Regions from separate parts of the Homo sapiens genome. Here all the other regions are linked to region 4. Evidence: promoter capture Hi-C in 16 types of primary human blood cells and fetal thymus (Javierre and others, 2016). All regions are on one chromosome and are shown on one strand. Each heading gives the region's core, a stretch centred on a gene start or on the middle of the fragment in contact. The rest is flanking DNA. Distances are from core to core; before and after follow the strand shown.

Region 1 (2,700 bases), core at 124-2,623, 210 kb after region 4:
GGCCGAGTGCGATGTCATGTTTGTGTGTGTGTTGCCAACGTTAGGCCGAGTGCGATATCGTGTTTGTGTGTGTGTCTGTTGCCGTTAGGCCGAGTGCGATGTCATGTTTGTGTGTGTGTTTGTTGCCAACGTTAGGCCAAGTGCAATGTCATGTTTGTGTGTGTGTGTCTGTTGCCAACGTTAGGCCAAGTGCGATGTCATGTTTGTGTGTGTGTCTGTTGCCAACGTTAGGCCAAGTGCAATGTCGGAGAGGTGGTGTTGGGTGTTTCCGCCACATGTTGTGGCATGGAGGGCCCCTGCTTCCCAGCGTCCTGTGAGGGGCTCCACATGATGTCTGAGCTGCCCTTTCTTTTATTTTGCTGCCATTAATGTGTCTCTCTTTTTTATTCTTTGACCTAGGGAAGATTTAGGATTCAGATTTATATCGGAACAGGTCAGTCACCACCCCCCCATCAGTGCGTTCCACTCGGAAGGTCTCAACCATGACTTCCTGTTCCATGGCTCCATCTACCCCAAGCTCAAGTTCTGGGGCAAAAGCGTGGAGGCGGAGCCCCGAGGCACCATCACCCTGGAGCTGCTCAAGTGAGTGTCGGTGCGTCCTGCTGAGATCCGCTTCCTGCAGAAACTGAAATGGGTGCTGGTGATGTGGAGGGAAAGCTTCCTTCAGGAGGAAACCCTGTCATTTTTCTCCTGAGGTGGGGACCTCCCCACAGCAGAAACGTCTTCAGATGAGCTTCCTGACCAGGGTCCCGTGTTGCTGGGGTGCGTCCTCACGTCTGCAGTTGGAATTCGCCCCCCTTTCGGTCACATCATTCATTGTATGACCAGGGTCCCATGTTGCTGGGGTGCATCCTCACGTCTGCAGTTGGAACTCACCCCGCTTTCCGGCATCATTCATTGTATTTCTTGTCTTTTGCTGCATAACTGTCCCAAACTTAGCAGCTTCCACACCAGGCTGGCAGGTGTCTGAGGGCCGGGGACCGTGAGGTTGCGGTGGCAATGAGGGTTGGGTTGCCCATGGCGCCTGTGTCCTGGCTCCCCTTCTGGGCTGCTTGCTGCAGGGCACTGCCTCCCACAGGGGGAGAGAGCTGAGAAGGAAGCCAGGGAAGTGGCCCTTTGCACACTCCCCCACCCTGTGCTCATGTGGCAGGGGTGACTTAGGGTTGGAATTTGAAACAGCGTGGGAGGGGACCCTCTGAGAGGCTGCTTGCCACCCCTCTTCACTCTCAGCCTAAATGCTCCCCAATCCAGTGTCAACCAAAGACACCTCAGAGCAAAACACAAGTCTCCAACAAATGCCGGCCGCTAAGACCCGACAGACACAGACCGGATGCTGGCGTCCTCCTGGGCCACCAGTTCTGAGACGTGAGTCTTGCCAAGCCACTGCCTGCAGTCTTGTTGTAGGCAGCAGGTCCTAACAAATACATACAGAAATAAGTAATAAACGACACCTTGCCTGATGAAGCATTTGATTTGGGTTTTGCTTCACATTGGCCCTGCCTGGATGGTGGCTAGAAGGTTCCACAAGGACCTGGAGAAGCCCCTGAGAGTGTGTCCTGGGGCTGGTATGGCCGAGTGCCTGTTGTGCAGTGGCCTTGCTTAATTAAGAGGCATGCAGAAATGAGAAGTTGCACACCTTGCTGATAAAGTTGCACACCTTGCTGATAACCTTGCTGATGAACCAGTTTGGGTTCCACCCCCAGGAAATTGAGAGAATTCCAGACGTGTGGCAAAATACCCTGCTCTGAGCAGATTTCTGCCTTCACTGTGGCTCCCCCACGTAGCACCTTAGAACATAGGGCTGCTGATCTGCTGCCTCACATTGGTGGGGTGTTTTCTTCTTGGGCAGGGCCATTTGGGAGGATGAGGAGTAAAGGAAACAAGTATGTGGAGTGCGGTTGAAAACCCTGCACCCCTCCACAGCCATGTGCCAGCTCCCCAGAAAGCCAGGGCCGCATGCCCAGGACCCTGCATTACTGCCGTGTGTGTTTCGTGAGGTGGCCTTTCTTTTGACGACTTCACAGGAAAGCCATTTGTCTTTGTTCAGTCTTCTTTGATTGCTTATTAACTTGTCTTGACATTTAAGTAGAAAGCTTTGTAGATGCTACAAAGGAAAGAAGAAGTACATTTCAAACGCATGCTAAATACACAGCCTCCGTCGCAGGGGCTTCAAAGCAGCGTGCTGCTCTCCCGCGGGTGCCGGTTGCTGTGACCCAGCCCCGCCTGGTCGTTGCGTCTTGGGTCACGTCGTGTCTTGGCTTTTCTGGACTCTCACTGCTTGTTTTCTGGTGTCTTCACAGACATAATGAAGCCTACACCTGGACCAACCCCACCTGCTGCGTCCACAACGTCATCATCGGGAAGCTGTGGATAGAGCAGTATGGGACAGTGGAGATTTTAAACCACAGGTGACAGCACCCCACCGTTGGGTGAGAGCGCGAGGCTCCGGGTGGGGATGGGCGAGCCGGGGAGCGTGAGCATCCGTGCTCCTGGTGGGTTTTAGCTCAGCCTCACGAGCTGCTGCCGTGTCCCCGCCAGCCCAGGCATAGCAGCTGCCTAGACTTGACTCTGACCGGTGTTGGCCATGAATGCTCCTCGTTCAAGACCTCGTTTTTCGTCACGGTTGTTACTTTAAGGCTTTGAGCTATGCTGAAGAGCTGTGTCATTGCCAGGTGCAGCGCAGTGGCCGTCCACGGCCGT
Region 2 (2,700 bases), core at 101-2,600, 140 kb after region 4:
ACCCATTAAAAATAGTAAGCCTGCTGGTAAGGTTATTTGGATGGCACTTTATATCTGCAGAGTACTCTACATGTAAATTTCTATCAGTAATCAAATGATTAGTAGAGTACAGGCAGCCATTTTCCTCTTTTTTGAATCCTATTAGAAGCAGAAAGAGAAGGTATGAAATGTACTCTACTAGATAGATCCATCGCCACGCTGGTCTCCCAAACATCTCCAAGCATTGAATTCCTCAGGTGTCAGTTGGCCCAGTGAATCACCCAGGTGCTAAATCAAATGGCTTCAGTTCAAGGCGTTCCTTGAAAGGAAAGTGTTAGAACTCAGGAAATCCGCCTTCGCAGTGGGCTCCAGGCCTTCTCTCCCAGGCTCGAGGTGGAAGGCGCTCTTGGGTGCTGGGTGTGCCAAGTGGTCACCTCGTGTGCCCCTGTCTTCCCTGCAGTGGCCGACATCCCCGGCATCATACGAGGCGCCCACCAGAACAGGGGTCTGGGGTCCGCCTTCCTCAGGCACATCGAGCGCTGCCGCTTTCTCTTGTTCGTGGTGGATCTTTCTCAGCCTGAGCCGTGGACTCAAGTTGACGATTTAAAATATGAACTGGAGATGTATGAAAAGGGCCTGTCTGCGAGGCCCCACGCAATCGTCGCAAACAAGATTGACCTCCCTGAAGCCCAAGCCAATCTGTCCCAGCTCCGGGATCACTTGGGACAGGAGGTCATCGTGCTGTCGGCGTTGACCGGCGAGAACCTGGAGCAGCTGCTGTTGCACCTGAAGGTGCTGTATGACGCCTACGCGGAGGCCGAGCTGGGCCAGGGCCGCCAGCCGCTCAGGTGGTAGCCACGCCAGAGCGGGGTCGCCTCTGGGCCTCTGTCTGAGCAAACCTGGGTGTGAATTCGGTGGTTTTGAATGCATAAAGTGCCTTGTGGACACGGGGGAGTTGTGGTGCTTCTGGGTCTCTGGGCCCCGCCTGCTGGCCTGAGATGCCCTCATGTTGGGAAGCATTCCGTGCCCCCTACCCCGCCTGCCCTCCGTATTTCCTGCACCTGTCAGCCTGCACCGACTGATGAGCCAGTTGCTCATTTGTGCTGATTAACACCCCTAATAAGGGGTTGGGGTGCCCATAACGGGGTGGCCCTGCCGCTGACTCAGGTCTCCGCCATGCACGCGTGGACTCTCGGATGAGCTCAGCAGAACCGCACAGCCAGAGCCCCAGGTCAGAAGTGCAGACCAGGGTTCTCAGCACAGTGCCCGTCGTGCTTCCATGGCTTGCTACGGAGAGAGACCTCTGGATCCACACTGGGGCTGCGTCTGGCCCGTTGTCCAGCAGCCCTGCGGTACCGCAAGCCCAGGCACCAGTGTCTCGGGGGGCCTCACTGCTGCGCAAGGGGTGGGGCCGAGGATGCAAGTCCAGGCAGAGCGGCGCAGGCAGCTGTGAGCTTTTCTCCATCAGCCGTCTGAGAAGAGCAGTGAGGCCAGCTGCTTCCTGTCCTTCAGAACACTTCTCTGTGCTCAGTGGGAGCCAGGAAGCCTCAGGCTTCACGACTGAATGCACCCAATATCCGACCTGGCTGCGTGTTTCTGGCTGGGCTGCCGTGTGCACAGCAAGTTAACTAGAGGGGCTGTGGGCCATGGAACTGTCAGCGTTATTCTCAGAAGGCGGCCGTGGCATGGGCAGGGTATAGTGAGGAGTGGAAGGAGACGTGTGCCTGGTAATATGGGGCGGAATTTCCACTCAGCTCCATTTGCTGGGGATTTAAAGAGAACCCTTGTGCTACGCCAGGCAGTTACCGAGCCGAAGGGAGATGATGGGCCTTCGCCCCTCAGTGGGATGGCAGCTGAGGGGGCCCTGCATTTGACCGTCGAGACTGCAGCAGCGCCTTTCCTGTCTGTGGTTTAAGTCTTTGCAGTCAAGTACTGATGCATCCAAGCCAGGCCCATGCCTGGTGTCTCCCTGACTGCAGAGGAGCCCCAGGGCAAGGACAGCTCAGCTGCTGGCAGCCTGCCTGGCCCATAGACATCCCCCAAGTAGTCTCAGGCCTCTGACATGTCCCTGAGGGGCCCCTAAGAAAGAAAGTGGAGGGGACACTCCAGAGGCTGTCGTGGGAGGATCATGTGAGCCTGGGAGGTCAAGGCTGCAGTGAGCCGTGATTGCACCACTGCACTCCAGCCTGAGTGACAGAGCGAGACCCTGTCTCAAAAAACAAACAAACAAACAAACAAAAACAGAACATTCTGGGCACGGTGGCTCATGCCTGTAGTCCCAGCACTTTGGGAGGCCGAGGCTGGTGGATCACAAGGTCAGGAGATTGAGACCATCCTGGCTAACACAGTGAAACCCCGTCTCTACTAAAAATACAAAAAAATTAGCCAGGCGTGGTGGCGGTCACCTGTAGTCCCAGCTACTCGGGAGGCTGAAGCAGGAGAATGGCGTGAACCTGGGAGGCGGAGCTTGCAGTGAGCCGAGATCACACCACTGCACTCCAGCCTGAGCGACAGAGCAAGACTCCATCTCAAAAAAAAAAAAAAAGTGGAGGGGACAAAGAAGCAGAGAAGGATGATCAGAAGGGGACCCCCAGCCCTTGGAGGAGAGACGGCAGCCTCAGGTGAGATGAGCCGCAAGGGTCCGGGGCCGCGTCTCTGCACGCTGGGGTGGGGCGCGCTTTGCACAGCAGGCCGGTGCCTGGGCTTTCAGGAGCAATTCCG
Region 3 (2,700 bases), core at 76-2,575, 180 kb after region 4:
TTCTTTCCTTTTCCTTCCAGATTCAGAAAAGAACTTGGGATCATTCAGCAGAATGTCACAGCATCCACATTCTTTCCGCTGGAGCTTCTGCTGATGCAAATCCTGTGACCTCTGAGTTGAGCTGAGTGGTGGAAGTGAGCTTTTATAAGGGACTGGATCTGAGACTCGTGCCTGATGTTTGTGGCTGTTTCTCTTTGCTTGCCTTCTGTTTTCAGTGGAACACTCGCTTGATGTATTTTGAGAAACAAACTCTGGGATCAGTCCTGTTGAGCTAGTGGCTGGCTCCATAGTTTGGGGCCTGAAGAGGTTCCCGCACCCTCAGGGCTTGTGGCGGTCATCAGGCCTCTCTCCTGGGTGTAAGGTGTGTACTTCTCACCTGCGCACTGAGGGCCTGGGGGCTGTGGCCCCGACGCTGAGGCAAGTCAGGGGTGGGAAGGGTCTGAGGGGCTCTTGGCTGAGCAGACACTGAGCACATTTCTTTATCAAAGGCGCTGGGACTGCAACCTTCAGGGGTGCCCAGAGAGCGCCTGTTGTGGGCTCATACGGGGAGTTCTTGGAGGAGCACCAGGCAGGGAGGACTGTAGTGTGTAGGGAGTTGTGTGGAGTTTTGGTTCCAGAAAAGACGGAGGCAGCTGTAGAGGAAGGAGGACTATGGTGTGGAAGTGAGTGCCTGTGCTTTGTACTGAATAAACCTAAGGCTGATCCAAGGCTGATCGTGAGAAAGAGCCCCCTGTAACCTGGGACCTTGTGCCACTGTGCTCGGCCAGAGAGCAACTTCCATTATTGCCTTAAAACTAGGGGGACTGTGATTCAGTGACATTTCGGTGACTCCGATAATGACGGCAGGTGTCAGGTGCGCACAGGGCGTGGGGCTACCCTCTTACTGTGAAAGAGGACACGGGCTGCGTCTGTGGTGGCGAGCTCCTGCGAGTGCCCTGGCTCTGGCTTGGCCTCTCTTGATGATGTAGCAGAGCTGGGAGTCTCGCTGTAATCATCACCCGTCTTCCAAGTAAGTCTCACCTGTGGGAAATGCTGGAACACCTGAGCGGAAGCAGAGCCAGGGCAGTGCCTGAGCTGGGGCCAGGGGAGGGGTCCCAGTGCAGAGGTGCCCGAGGAGCCCTAGCGCCTGCCCCGCAGCCCCTGCCCCGCAGCGCCTGCCCCGCAGCGCCTGCCCGGCAGCTCCGCCTCTTCAGTGGCTCGGCTGTCAGGGTAGAAGGCTCCTGGGTTAACATCATGGAGTTTTCACCCCTGCTTCTCATCAGAAAAGCTGGGGGAACTTTTTAAAAAGTGTGGGTTCAAGGCCCAGCCCCAGCTTCACTGAGCCTGGGTTTCCCGGGAGGGGCCCAGGAAGAGATGTGTTTAACAAGCTCGGGAGGGTCTGGGGTGGGTCCTCAGCGGGGAGTCCAAGTGCTGGAGGCCCACGGTGGGGTCAGGACCCTTTTTTAGATCAAGGACCCCTTTGAGAACTTCATGAATATGAATAATGTGGGTCATTATTCTGGGGAAAAAAATGAACGAAAAATTTTTTTTCCTGTTTTTTTAAATTTTTTAATTAAAAAAAAATTTTTTTTGCAGAGGGTAGGGGGGTTAGAGATTGGTGGTTTTCCCTGACCTTGGTTTGAAGCCCTGCCTGTAGGTGCTCAGGAAGCACAGTTGGCAGCCACGTGGGCAGGTCTGATGTTAGGGTGACAGGTTTCTCAGCACAGTGGACCCCATTAGGGCTGCACAGGATGAAGATGGGCACGATGGTGAGGAGGGCCTGGAGCTGAGGCCACAGAGAAGGAGGCGGCCAGAGGGCAAGGACGCACTCCAGCAAGCCAGCCACTCCTTGGCTGGGCAGGTGCCCTGGGGAAGGCCGGGAGCCCTGCAGGACAACAGCCTCTCACCTGGGTCACTCACTTCCCTTTGCTGTCTTAATTTTCCTCCCACTCCCTCACCGCGTCCTCCGCCTGCTGTGGCCCTTGCTGGGTTGTGAGATGTGGGTACAAGGTGTCTCCTTCTCCTCTAGCTGCAGCCGCAGGCTGGGCTCCTCTCGGGGCCGTTGGTTTTGATCATCAGAGATACACAGCGGCGGCGGGTCGGGGGCTGGCTGGACTGCTGCTGCCCTTGGAGTGCTCTCCCTGCCCTCCGGCATGGCTTTCTGAGAGCAGGGCGCCCGTGAGCTGTGGGGCATGCGCCCTGTCCATTGCCTTCCCACCCAGTCTCGTGGGCCGCATTGGAACAGCTTTTTATTGTGTTGCATAAGGAGAAGGTTGATTAAAACACATGTTTTTGTACGGAAGCGCTTGCATTCATCTTGTGTGTTTGGAAATACATCGTACTGCATTACAAGGTAATGTTCCTCGAGGTGCGTGGTGTATTTTTGGCAATTAATATTCCACAGGAAGCAGTTAAGTCAGCGACAAGACTTGAGGGAGTTGACTGTGGTGAGTGGGGCGCTAGGCTCCGCTTCCGGGACGTCGGGCCACACTGGCCGCGAGGCCCAGTGGGAAGGTTTGCCACTCCCCACAGCTGCTTCTTGGGACCAAGCCGGGCTCACCTTTGCCTGCCTCTCAAGGTCACCCTCTTGGCATGGAGAATGGTAAACAGTGGGGGTGCTGCTGTCTGCACAGTGGGAGAGGTTCACCTGCCTTTCTCAGTGTAGAAACTTCCTGCGTGAATTCTGGACTGATGCAGAGTCCTCATGTGCACCTGGCAAGT
Region 4 (2,700 bases), core at 65-2,564:
GTCCGGGACAGGCTCTGGGTCACTGCGCCGGCCGCGCCTTTGGGCAGCCCGGTGGGGGTCCCGGGGGCGGGCGGCGGGACGGCGGCCGGGCTGGGCAGCGCCCCTTGCATAGTTGGCCCGATGACCATGCTGGCCGCCGTGCTGGCCGGGCCGCTGGCCGCCAGGGTCTGCGCCGCCGGGGGCGCCGCCTGCACCACCCTCTTGGGCGACTCGGCCTTGACCCCCGGCGCCGGCGCCGCAGCCGCCGCGCCGGGCCCGGGTTGGCCGCTGACCCCCGCGGGGCCCCCGGCGGCCGGGGCGGGGGCGGGGGCTGCCCCGGCGCTGCCCCCGTTCTGGGCGGCGGCGGGGGGCGGCACGGCGGGCGCGGCGGTCGGGGGTCCGGCGGGGTGGCCGGGCGGCCGGGCCAGAGTGGCGGGCGCGGGGGGTGGCGGGGGCGGGGCGGCGGCGGGGGCGGCGGGCGCGGGGGCGGCGGGGGGCGAGGGCGCGGCGGGCGCGGGGGGCGCGGCGGCGCCCACGAAGGGGGGCGTCTGGATGACAGTGCCGGGGGCGGCGGGCTTGGGCAGCGGCAGCAGCGCGGCGGGCCCGTTGTTGACCAGGCTGACAGCAGGTGCGGCGGCGTGGTGCGAGTTCAGCAGCGCGGCGCTCCCATTCAAAGTTTGCGCGGCGCCGGGGCCGGCGGGCTTGCCAGGGCCAGGGCCGGGGCCGGGGCCGGGGCCGGGCCCGGGGCCGGGGCCGGCGCGGGCGGCCAGCGCGGCGGGGCCGGCGGGCTTGGCGGGGCCGGCGGGGGCGGGCTCGGGCCCCGCGGCGACGGCGGCGGCGGCGGGCACCGGGGCGCAGGACCCCGCGCTGCCCTCGGGCGGCGGCCTCAGCTTCGCGGCGGGCGGCGCGGGCCCTGCGGGGACAAGGGGGCGGCGCGGTGAGGGGGGGCCCGGGCGCTGCGGCCCCCCGCCCCCCGGCCGCGCTCTACCTGCGGGGGGCGGCTCCGGCGCCGCTCCGGGCGCGCCCTCGGCGGGGGCGGCCGGCCCTGCGCCCGCGGCTCCGGCCGGGCTGCCGCTCACAACATGGTTCCCGAGCGCGCCGGCGGCCGCGGCCCGCACCTCGGGCGTGCGCGGCGCGAGGTGGTGGTGGTGGGCCGCGCTGGCCGCCAGCTGCGACTCCAGCGAGCCCACCAGGTCGCTCACCACTTTCTCGTCCACCTCGCTGTTGAAGAAGACCTCGTCCAGCAGATCCGAGCCCGCCGCCATCTTTTTTCCTCGGCCGCCGCCGCCGCCGCCGCTCGGGCCGAGCGCGCCTGGGCGAGGAGGAGGTTCCGACTGGGGCGGGCGCTGGGCGGGCGGGGGGCGGCGCGCGGCCGGCGGGGGGCGGGGGCGCGCGGCCGGGGGGCGGGGGAGCGGGGGTGGCGGCCCTGCGCAGGCGCGGAGACCGCGGGCGCCCGGCGATTGGCTGCGGCGCGCGCTTAAAAGGCGCGGCCAATGGCTGCGAGCGCTAGAGGCCGGGGCGCGGGCGGTCGGCCGGGGTGCGGCAGCAGCGGCGGGAAGCGCGGGGGCTGGAGCTCAGGGGCGCGGGCGCCGGGGCGGTGGCGGACGGGGAGGGGGCCGCCGGGCGGGGCGCGGGATGCGGGAACGGTGCGCTGGGCCGGGCCGAGGCGGGCGCGGGGCGGCGACGGGGCCTCGCTCTTTGTCTCGGCTCGCTCCAAAATGGCTGCGGCGGCGCTGACGGGAGCGCCGGGCGGGCGCCGTGCGCGGTGGCAGCGGCGGCGCAGGGCCCGTCCGAGGCCCGGGGAACAGCGCGCGGGGATGCCGGGGCGCCGCCGGGCGGCGCGCAGGCCCTGGAGTGGATGGGCCTGGGAGGCGGGCGGGAACGGGGAGGGGACTGTCGCAGCGCGCCCTGGGGACGGGGACCGGCGCCCGGCCCCTCCAAGCCGCCGCGGGGAAGCTGGGTCCGCCTCTGGCTCAGCCGGTCCCGGGCGGTGGGGAGGGGTCCTGCGCGCACGGCTCTTCTCGCCCTCCAATCGTGACCACCCCTGGCCCTTCCCTCCATTTTTAATCAATAAACCCAGCCGCCCCGGGCTGACTGTCCCCGCACCCAGCTGCCTTGGAGACAGGAGTGTCGTATAAGCCCGTAGGTAAGAGCACGGTGCTTGCCAGGCGCCAAACGAAGTTCCCGAGCCTGAAGCCGGCACGTCTGGAAGTAGCTTTTTTTACCTTCTGCTGGGGGAGGGGAGTAAGTTACCTAAAGTGTTCCCAAGCACCTTCTCTCTAGAAATACTTCAGTAAAAGTTCCAGTCCCCTCTTTCTGCGTGTTTTATTTTCCAACCAAAAGATGGTGTTATTGGACATTTCTAGTGGTTTTCCTTTCTCTCATTTCTTCCTAAGAGCCCAGAATAGGTTTCAGAGAGACGCTTCCTTGCCTCGGACCTCACTGGGGCCAAGAGGCCACAGGGTCAGTCTTCGCAGCTGAAGACAGCGCCGCAATAAGCAGAGACCTCGGGACGATGAATGACGTTGCTGACAAAGAAAATGATTTTTTTAATTGCTTTAACAAAGGAGACTGCTAGTCTCGAAAGCAGACCCGAACTGGACCCTTGTGCCTGTTCGAACTGTAGCCTTGCAAAGGAATGGACTTACTGATAACTGGAATACGGGACTTCACCCCAGGCTTGTTTCTCGACAGCAGCAGCAGCCAATGAGCATTGAGGAC
Region 5 (2,700 bases), core at 160-2,659, 240 kb after region 4:
TGCACCTCAGGGTTCTCACGAAGCGCCTGACCTCTCTATTTTATTACTATTATTATTATTATTTTTTTTTTTTGAGAAGGAGTCTTCCTCTGTCGCCCAGGCTGGAGTGCAGTGGTGCAATCTCGGCTCACTGCAACCTCCACCTCCCGGGTTCAGGCGATTCTCGTGCATCAGCCTCCTGAGTAGATGGAATTACAGGCATGTGCCAGCATACCTGGCTAATTTTTGCATTTTTAGTAGAGTCGGGGTTTCATTCACCATGTTGCCCAGGCTGGTCTTGAACTCCTGGCCTCAAGTAATCCGCCCGCCTCGGCCTCCCAAAGTTCTGGGTTTACAGGCGTGAGCCACCGCGCCTGAGCCCTCTAAGAGCCCCCGCCTGGCGTCGCTGTAGGCAAATCCCAAAGAACGTGTCCCTTCAGCAGCCGGCTGGGGCGCCACAAACACTATCTGTTGTCTTCGCTTTAGTTTGTGTCAAAGTGACTCAAAGTTACACAACACTGGCGGGCGACTGCCGCCTTTTTACCCTGTGGCCTTTCCCATCCAGGCGTCCAGAGGGTGAGCCCCTGCCCTCCAGGACCCCTCCCTTCCAGGACCCTACCCGTCTGGGACTCAGGCCTTCCCTGACTCCTCCCTCCCGGACTCACCCCTCCCAGATCCCTCCCCTCCGGGACCCTCTCCCCTCCCGGGCCCCCTCCCCTCCGGGAACCCCTCCCCTCCCGGACTCACCCCTCCCAGATCCCTCCCCTCCAGGAGCCCCTCCCCTCTCGGGACCCCTCTCCTCCCGGACCCACCCCTTCCTGACCCCTGCCCTCCCGGACCCCTGCGGGACTAGATGTATACAGCTGAGACCATATCACGGTTCTCACCCTCGCTCTACCCTCCCGGACCCCTGCTCTCCCGGACGCGTGGACTCCAGCTCCCGCCTGGGTCCCCAAAGCGCTGAACCCATGGTCACTTCTATGCGTAGCCCTGGTGCCCGCCGCCCACAGCCGGACCGCACTCCTCGGCCTCCGCCTAACCCCTGGCTCAGCCACACGAGTGACAGCTCTGCCCGCCCGGGCGGGCGACGCCGAGGGGTGGGCTCGGCCCCACCTGAGCAGTTCCCCAGCGCCCCTCTGAAACCCGCCTGTGGTCCCTGGCGCCGCCTCTAGGGGCCGCCGCCGCTCCCCTATGACACAGCAACAATAGGGGCCGCTCTGGTCCAAGCGCCCTGCGGCCCGCGCTTCCGCCGGAAAAGAGCCGCCGGCGCGGGGGCGGACCGGGGAGGAGCGAGTGCGATGGACGGTCGCCCTCGCCAATCGTTGGCAGGTTAGAGCCGGCTGCGCGGCTTACGGGGCTCAATCGGCGGCGAGAGCGGCAGGCGGGGCGGGCCGAACGCGGGTTTCCGGCGGGGCCCGGCAGGCGCCGAGGAGGAAGAGCGAGCCCGGACGGCGCCTCTCGAACGAGTGTGGGCGCGAGGCAGGTGCGGGAGTCGCCGGGCCTGGGGCGGCCGGGGGCGACCGGAGGCGGGGGCAGGGGCTGCTGGACCAAGGATGGGGCGGGGGCAGCCAAGACGAGAAGGTGGCCGGCGCGGCGGGTGGGGCCTGCGGGGGCCGGGCCGGGCGGGGGTTCTGGGGTCTCGGGCGCCGCCCCGGTTCCGCCTGCGGCTCTGAACGTGGGGCTCGGCGGGAGCTCGGGCGGGTCTGCCCCGCGGAGCGGGTCGCCGGGGTGGCGCGTCGAGGCTGGTGCCCCGCGGAGACGGCGTCAAGCCTAGGGCCGGCCCCACTAGGCTTGGCGGGGCTGCCCCGGCCCAGCGCCGAGTGCGGGCGGTGCGATCGTCGTGAGCGGGGCAAACGCGGAAAGGCAGCCCGGCGTGTCTGAGTCTGCCTTAGGCAGCTCTGGGCGCAGGCCCCCTGCTCGCAAACACCCCAGGGGGCGGGAGCTTGCCGGACCGCAGGCGACAGTGACCGCCGCGTCTCAGCGTCCTCTCCGCGCTTTCAGGATGACGACCTCAGGCGCGCTCTTTCCAAGCCTGGTGCCAGGCTCTCGGGGCGCCTCCAACAAGTACTTGGTGGAGTTTCGGGCGGGAAAGATGTCCCTGAAGGGGACCACCGTGACTCCGGATAAGCGGAAAGGGCTGGTGTACATTCAGCAGACGGACGACTCGCTTATTCACTTCTGCTGGAAGGACAGGACGTCCGGGAACGTGGAAGACGTGAGTGTCCCTGAGCCGCAGCAGCAGGACAGGCGACTTCTCGGGCCCTCGGAGTCCTCGCTTTGGAGTTCGCGGTGGGGGCTTGGCCGCATCTGGGGACCGCTCGTGGGGCCGTCATCGACTGCCCTGCTGATGGGTCGTCCTGGTTTCCGCGGTGACAGGGGCATCTCGGCCACTGTGTATCTTGAACTGTCCGTGTGAGGTGCCTGGGTTGGAGGTGTGGCCCTGGAGAGCCCGGAGCTCTGTGCCTGGCCTTGAACTGTCCGTGTGAGGTGCCTGGGGTTGGAGGTGTGGCCCTGGAGAGCCTGGAGCTCTGTGCCTGGCGGCTTCACTCAGTCTTCTTTGTTTTTCAAACTCTTAGTTGTTCTTTGTTACATTTGAGAGCAGTTCAGCGTTGACTTTTTAACTACTCTGGGAATGTTGTTTCCAGCACGTCTCAGAAACCCCGTTGCCATCTGAAAGGCCCCTTTCCCTGCTCTCTCCCCCGGCCTTGCCTTTCATGGGCT

What was found. The method cuts DNA at HindIII sites, captures the fragments that hold promoters and counts their contacts. A CHiCAGO score of 5 or more calls a contact.
Region 1: a contact is called between a fragment that was not itself captured here and the fragment with the promoter of TAF4 in region 4, in 1 of 17 cell types (neutrophils). The highest score is 5.2, in neutrophils.
Region 2: a fragment that was not itself captured here is called in contact with the fragment with the promoter of TAF4 in region 4 in 1 of 17 cell types (neutrophils); the score reaches 5.3 in neutrophils.
Region 3: a contact is called between a fragment that was not itself captured here and the fragment with the promoter of TAF4 in region 4, in 5 of 17 cell types (non-activated CD4 T cells, neutrophils, activated CD4 T cells and 2 more). The highest score is 8.0, in non-activated CD4 T cells.
Region 5: the fragment with the promoter of ADRM1 here is called in contact with the fragment with the promoter of TAF4 in region 4 in 1 of 17 cell types (neutrophils); the score reaches 6.8 in neutrophils.

The regions. Positions count from the first base shown.
Region 1 is chr20:62,278,758-62,281,457 of GRCh38, forward strand. It overlaps OSBPL2 (oxysterol binding protein like 2), which reads left to right. Exons shown (of 14, transcript NM_144498.4): 7 at 400-582; 8 at 2,301-2,408. Among named protein-coding and RNA genes, the nearest start is that of ADRM1, 23 kb to the right of the region's middle. RefSeq lists an enhancer at 176-676. The HindIII fragment of the contact is 1,436 bases long and covers 656-2,091 here.
Region 2 is chr20:62,200,244-62,202,943 of GRCh38, forward strand. It overlaps MTG2 (mitochondrial ribosome associated GTPase 2), which reads left to right. Exons shown (of 7, transcript NM_015666.4): 7 at 440-2,700. The coding sequence ends at 834. Among named protein-coding and RNA genes, the nearest start is that of MTG2, 19 kb to the left of the region's middle. The HindIII fragment of the contact is 2,804 bases long and covers 1-2,700 here.
Region 3 is chr20:62,242,301-62,245,000 of GRCh38, forward strand. All of the region lies in intron 1 of OSBPL2 (oxysterol binding protein like 2), which reads left to right. Among named protein-coding and RNA genes, the nearest start is that of OSBPL2, 5.1 kb to the left of the region's middle. RefSeq lists enhancers at 1,493-2,101, 2,102-2,700. The HindIII fragment of the contact is 4,482 bases long and covers 1-2,700 here.
Region 4 is chr20:62,064,567-62,067,266 of GRCh38, forward strand. It overlaps TAF4 (TATA-box binding protein associated factor 4), which reads right to left and starts at 1,315. Exons shown (of 15, transcript NM_003185.4): 1 at 1-1,315. The coding sequence starts at 1,244. It overlaps MIR3195 (microRNA 3195), which reads left to right and starts at 236; the gene lies at 236-319. LOC105372705 (a long non-coding RNA gene) reads left to right here and starts at 1,888. Exons shown (of 2, transcript XR_936960.3): 1 at 1,888-2,125; 2 at 2,376-2,700. RefSeq lists enhancers at 1-33, 34-547, 548-1,062, 2,091-2,604 and silencers at 996-1,085, 1,346-1,455, 1,716-2,095. The HindIII fragment of the contact is 9,555 bases long and covers 1-2,700 here.
Region 5 is chr20:62,301,588-62,304,287 of GRCh38, forward strand. ADRM1 (ADRM1 26S proteasome ubiquitin receptor) reads left to right here and starts at 1,410. Exons shown (of 10, transcript NM_007002.4): 1 at 1,410-1,462; 2 at 1,981-2,194. The coding sequence starts at 1,982. RefSeq lists silencers at 920-1,039, 1,060-1,519. The HindIII fragment of the contact is 19,122 bases long and covers 1-2,700 here.